Regions from separate parts of the Homo sapiens genome. Here region 1 is linked to region 2. Evidence: promoter capture Hi-C in 16 types of primary human blood cells and fetal thymus (Javierre and others, 2016). All regions are on one chromosome and are shown on one strand. Each heading gives the region's core, a stretch centred on a gene start or on the middle of the fragment in contact. The rest is flanking DNA. Distances are from core to core; before and after follow the strand shown.

Region 1 (2,863 bases), core at 311-2,810, 150 kb after region 2:
AGATTCCTGGCAATGGTCTAGGGATGACACAAGTCACTGTGAATGGAACCTGGCATGATGAAGAAGGGTTCCAGAGAGTTAGGGGGAACTTTCCTGGTCTTGGCCAAGAAAGAAATGTCATGGCCAGGAGCCCAGGTCAGAGAGGGCAGGAGATAAGATGATGTGGGTTGGAGGGAAGTAGCCTGAAGTTTGCGGATCAAGAAGCTCCATAAAAGTGGCCATGAAATCGGAATAGTTGGAAATTCTGAAAGGTGAGAGTGAAAAGGTGCAGAGTCCATGGGGTGAGTCACCTTTGGTAGGACACAGAGCTCTAACTGGCACTTCGGCTGCCTCAGGCAAGGGTCTGAAACACACCCTCAAACCAACTTTGGTTTTCCATCTAGGAATCATGAAGGAGGTGTTATTAACCACAGGCCTTCTGGAAGCTTCCTATGGAAGGGCCAAATCCCTTTGTTTCTGTGTCATGCAGGGGTGCATGTGCTGTCAAAATGTTAAAAATGTCACAACAGTTTCACTTTCATCACTTTCCGCAATTATTGTTTTAAATTCCATATCCTCTAAATTTCCAGCCCCCTGGGCAAAGCCCAATCACACTGCCCTGGGTAATGGCCATGATGGGGCGAGGTATCTCTGTGATGGAAACTTGATTGCTTTCTGCTTCATTTCTTGGGTTCTATTTTGCCGTTGACTACTCTTTGTAGTTTACGATTTTTAAAAACTCCATCCTGTCTCCATTTTGCTAAGGAAAATCAAGAAAAGGGATTTGGGTCCACACGTTGGTGAATGGGAGATAAAAGGTAGGCAAGGGGTGTTTAGGTGCCAGAGCAGGGGCAGCAAAGGGATGACAAGTGAGGGACTTTATGTGAGTTGAGATACAGGCTAAGATGCTGGAAGAAACAAAAATATAACACAGAAGAGAATTTTATTTTTCTCTCACTTTAGGGACCAGGGTTGGGCAGGCAACCAGGGCAAACACCAGGAGCTTGTGTGAACACCCAGATTCCTTCTGCTGTGTTACTCCGTCATCCTGGAGTGTTGTCCTTGTCTTCATGGCTGAAGCTACCTCACCATCCATGTGAGCCCACATTCCAGCCCAAGGCAAGGAGGACAGAGGAAGGGAGGACATGCAGCTTCCTCATACCAACTGTCATCAGGAGGTGCCTGTGGCATTTGTGCATCATCCCATTGGCCACAGCTTAGTCACATGATCACATCTAGCTGCAAAGGAGGCTGGGAAATGTGGCCCCTAGTGGGCACCACATGCCTAACTAAAACCTGGAGTGTTCTATTACTAAAAGAAAGAAAGGGGCAATGGGCAATGGGGACAATTGTCTCTTTCTGCCATAAACCCAGGAGGAAAGGGCTATCAGGACCACAAGTGGCACTCAGGGACCAGCAGCCACTCTTCTAGAGTTTCTCACTGGAGGAACATAAGAGGTTCTGGGTTTTGTTTCAGGGAAGCTGTGGTAGATTGTTCTTCAGCTCTTCATGTGACTTACCTTGTGACCTTGGAGCAGGAGAGTGGGTGGAATATATTTCCCTACCCAGCAGCATTGGGCTTGGCCATGTGACCAGTTTGGGCCAATGGGATGTGAGAAGCAACAGCATGCCAGTTCCAAGGTAAAGCCTGAAGTGGCACCATGTTTCCACTCCTGCCATTCACCATGAGAAGGGCACATGCCAAACAGCAACTTGCCCAAGAAAGGGAAGAAACACACGGAGCATACCTAAGGTTAAGCCCAGAGCCAAGTATAGCTCAGCCCCAGCAGAGCCAGCCTTATGAGTGGCGACTCCCCACTCACAGACTCATGAGTGGGGAAAATATGTGAATAAACACTGGTTGATGTAAGCCAGTGTTCTGGGAGGGCTTGTCATGGAGCATTATTGCAGTAAAACTGGCTAGTACGGTGGTTCTGACACCCTGCTAAACCTCGATCCTGTCCCCAACCTTCCTTCTGTCCTCCTTTTTCAGTTCTTCACTCATGCAGGCCAGGTGCAGTGGCTCATGCCTGTAATCACAGCACTTTGGGAAGCCGAGGCAGGTGGATAATTTCAGGCCAGGAGTTCAAGACCTGTCTGGCCAACATGGCAAAACCCCGTCTCTATAAAAATGCAAAAATTTGGCTGGGCGTGGTGGCTCATGCCTGTAATCCCAGCACTTTGGGAGGCTGAGGCGGACAGATTGCTTGACGCCAGGAGTTCAAGTCCAGCCTGGCCAACATGGTGAAACCCCATCTCTACTAAACTTACAAAAATTAGCTGGGTGTGGTGGTGCACGCCTGTAATCCCAGCTATGTTGGGAAGCTGAGGCACAAGAATCACTTAAACCTGGGAGGTGGAGGTTGCAGTGAGCTCAGATCATGCCACTGCACTCCAGCCTGGGTGACAGAGTGAGACTGTCTCAAACATATACAATATTCTAGAATACAATACTCTAGAATACACTACAGTACAATACAATACATAAAACCCACTCATGAAGTCAACGGTCATTTACAAGACACCTGTTATATGCCAGGCACTGATCTAGGTCCTGGGACTAAAGAAACCTTAAGGCATTTCCAGTCTAGGGGGAGGGACAGACATGGAAATACATAATAACACTCTAACACAGCAATAATGGAGCATTATTGCAGTAAAACTCCAAGTGCTGGAACCAGGGTCTGTGCAAGCTGCTGGAGGACGGGGAAGCTTAGCACAGGGCTACACAGAACAAAGAACCAAATCAGCTTTCCTTTGTTTTCTTTTGTTCCCAGCCAGCCCTCCTACCCATCCAGAAACTTGAGCCTGGTCCGGAGTGAGTGCTGGAGTCCAGGAAGTGCTATGGAAGCAGCTGTGAATCAGTTACTGCTCTTTCACAATA
Region 2 (2,700 bases), core at 108-2,607:
GAAAGGAGGACAGTCGGCTGCAGATGGACACAGCGACTTGCAAGTTGAGGCAGGTGGCAAAGGACTTGCAGAGGCTCTGCAGGTGGGGCATGCTGATTCATTGCCCAGTTAAAATACCAGAGGATCTGGGCAGCCTCTTCACAGGAGCTGCTTGTCCTCAAACAATCTGTCTTCAATGAAAGATTCCTCTGGCCTTCCTTTCTCTTCTTGCACCTCAGGTGTGAATCCTTCTCCCCCACGCCTCTACCTGCCCCCCCGCCCCCCGCCCCGGCCCTGTGTGGCTCATTATATGCAGGGCCAAGGCAGCATTTTCTCTTAGCTTCTTTGTGACCACTTGGTCCTGGGATGGCTTCATGGAACACATCCTGTGGTGTGCACCAATGAAGCTTTCCATACAGGACTCAAAACTGTTTTTGAAAAATGTAACCAGCTGGAAGACAAGAAAATAAAATGTCAGCACTAAAAACGCTGGCTGTGGCTTTTGCTAAGGAAAGGAATTTGGTGTTGTCTTCTCACACACACAGACTGGTTGGGGAAATGACTGTCTTCAGCACATCACCCTGCGAGCCACAGTGAGTGCCCTGGCTCAGAAGTGCCTGTCACAGTGCACAGGATCCCTGAGGAGCATGAGCTGGGATTTCCTCTGTGCTGTCCACCACAGGAGCCTGAGTGACCAGCGCATCCTCGATTTGTAACCAGAATCCTGCCCTCTCTCCCAAGCGGGCACCCTTGCTCTGACCCTCTAGTTCTCTCTCTTGCCTTCCAGAGAATACCAAGAGAGGCTTTCTTGGTTAGGACAATGAATGCTGAGACTTGTGGAGTTGGGACCAATGGGATTTCTTTAAAAGCATCTTTTTGCCTCTGGCTGGGTCTATGGGGGTCAAACAGAAACGCCTTGGGCCATTTGTTGGTGGGGTGACAAATGAACTTGGCCTGAGAAATGGAATAGGCCGGGCTCAGCCCCGCGAAGCACTCAGAACTGCACATTTTCTTTGTTGAGCGGGTCCACAGTTTGTTTTGAGAATGCCCGAGGGCCCAGGGAGACAGACAATTAAAAGCCGGAGCTCATTTTGATATCTGAAAACCACAGCCGCCAGCACGTGGGAGGTGCCGGAGAGCAGGCTTGGGCCTTGCCTCACACGCCCCCTCTCTCTGGGTCACCTGGGAGTGCCAGCAGCAATTTGGAAGTTTGCTGAGCTAGAGGAGAAGTCTTTGGGGAGGGTTTGCTCTGAGCACACCCCTTTCCCTCCCTCCGGGGCTGAGGGAAACATGGGACCAGCCCTGCCCCAGCCTGTCCTCATTGGCTGGCATGAAGCAGAGAGGGGCTTTAAAAAGGCGACCGTGTCTCGGCTGGAGACCAGAGCCTGTGCTACTGGAAGGTGGCGTGCCCTCCTCTGGCTGGTACCATGCAGCTCCCACTGGCCCTGTGTCTCGTCTGCCTGCTGGTACACACAGCCTTCCGTGTAGTGGAGGGCCAGGGGTGGCAGGCGTTCAAGAATGATGCCACGGAAATCATCCCCGAGCTCGGAGAGTACCCCGAGCCTCCACCGGAGCTGGAGAACAACAAGACCATGAACCGGGCGGAGAACGGAGGGCGGCCTCCCCACCACCCCTTTGAGACCAAAGGTATGGGGTGGAGGAGAGAATTCTTAGTAAAAGATCCTGGGGAGGTTTTAGAAACTTCTCTTTGGGAGGCTTGGAAGACTGGGGTAGACCCAGTGAAGATTGCTGGCCTCTGCCAGCACTGGTCGAGGAACAGTCTTGCCTGGAGGTGGGGGAAGAATGGCTCGCTGGTGCAGCCTTCAAATTCAGGTGCAGAGGCATGAGGCAACAGACGCTGGTGAGAGCCCAGGGCAGGGAGGACGCTGGGGTGGTGAGGGTATGGCATCAGGGCATCAGAACAGGCTCAGGGGCTCAGAAAAGAAAAGGTTTCAAAGAATCTCCTCCTGGGAATATAGGAGCCACGTCCAGCTGCTGGTACCACTGGGAAGGGAACAAGGTAAGGGAGCCTCCCATCCACAGAACAGCACCTGTGGGGCACCGGACACTCTATGCTGGTGGTGGCTGTCCCCACCACACAGACCCACATCATGGAATCCCCAGGAGGTGAACCCCCAGCTCGAAGGGGAAGAAACAGGTTCCAGGCACTCAGTAACTTGGTAGTGAGAAGAGCTGAGGTGTGAACCTGGTTTGATCCAACTGCAAGATAGCCCTGGTGTGTGGGGGGGTGTGGGGGACAGATCTCCACAAAGCAGTGGGGAGGAAGGCCAGAGAGGCACCCCTGCAGTGTGCATTGCCCACGGCCTGCCCAGGGAGCTGGCACTTGAAGGAATGGGAGTTTTCGGCACAGTTTTAGCCCCTGACATGGGTGCAGCTGAGTCCAGGCCCTGGAGGGGAGAGCAGCATCCTCTGTGCAGGAGTAGGGACATCTGTCCTCAGCAGCCACCCCAGTCCCAACCTTGCCTCATTCCAGGGGAGGGAGAAGGAAGAGGAACCCTGGGTTCCTGGTCAGGCCTGCACAGAGAAGCCCAGGTGACAGTGTGCATCTGGCTCTATAATTGGCAGGAATCCTGAGGCCATGGGGGCGTCTGAAATGACACTTCAGACTAAGAGCTTCCCTGTCCTCTGGCCATTATCCAGGTGGCAGAGAAGTCCACTGCCCAGGCTCCTGGACCCCAGCCCTCCCCGCCTCACAACCTG

The links. The method cuts DNA at HindIII sites, captures the fragments that hold promoters and counts their contacts. A CHiCAGO score of 5 or more calls a contact.
Region 1: a contact is called between a fragment that was not itself captured here and the fragment with the promoter of SOST in region 2, in 4 of 17 cell types (megakaryocytes, M1 macrophages, M0 macrophages and 1 more). The highest score is 6.0, in megakaryocytes.

Annotation. Positions count from the first base shown.
Region 1 is chr17:43,610,126-43,612,988 of GRCh38, reverse strand. No RefSeq gene overlaps it. Among named protein-coding and RNA genes, the nearest start is that of MEOX1, 50 kb to the left of the region's middle. The HindIII fragment of the contact is 2,266 bases long and covers 428-2,693 here.
Region 2 is chr17:43,757,448-43,760,147 of GRCh38, reverse strand. It overlaps SOST (sclerostin), which reads left to right and starts at 1,357. Exons shown (of 2, transcript NM_025237.3): 1 at 1,357-1,626. The coding sequence starts at 1,407. The HindIII fragment of the contact is 6,420 bases long and covers 389-2,700 here.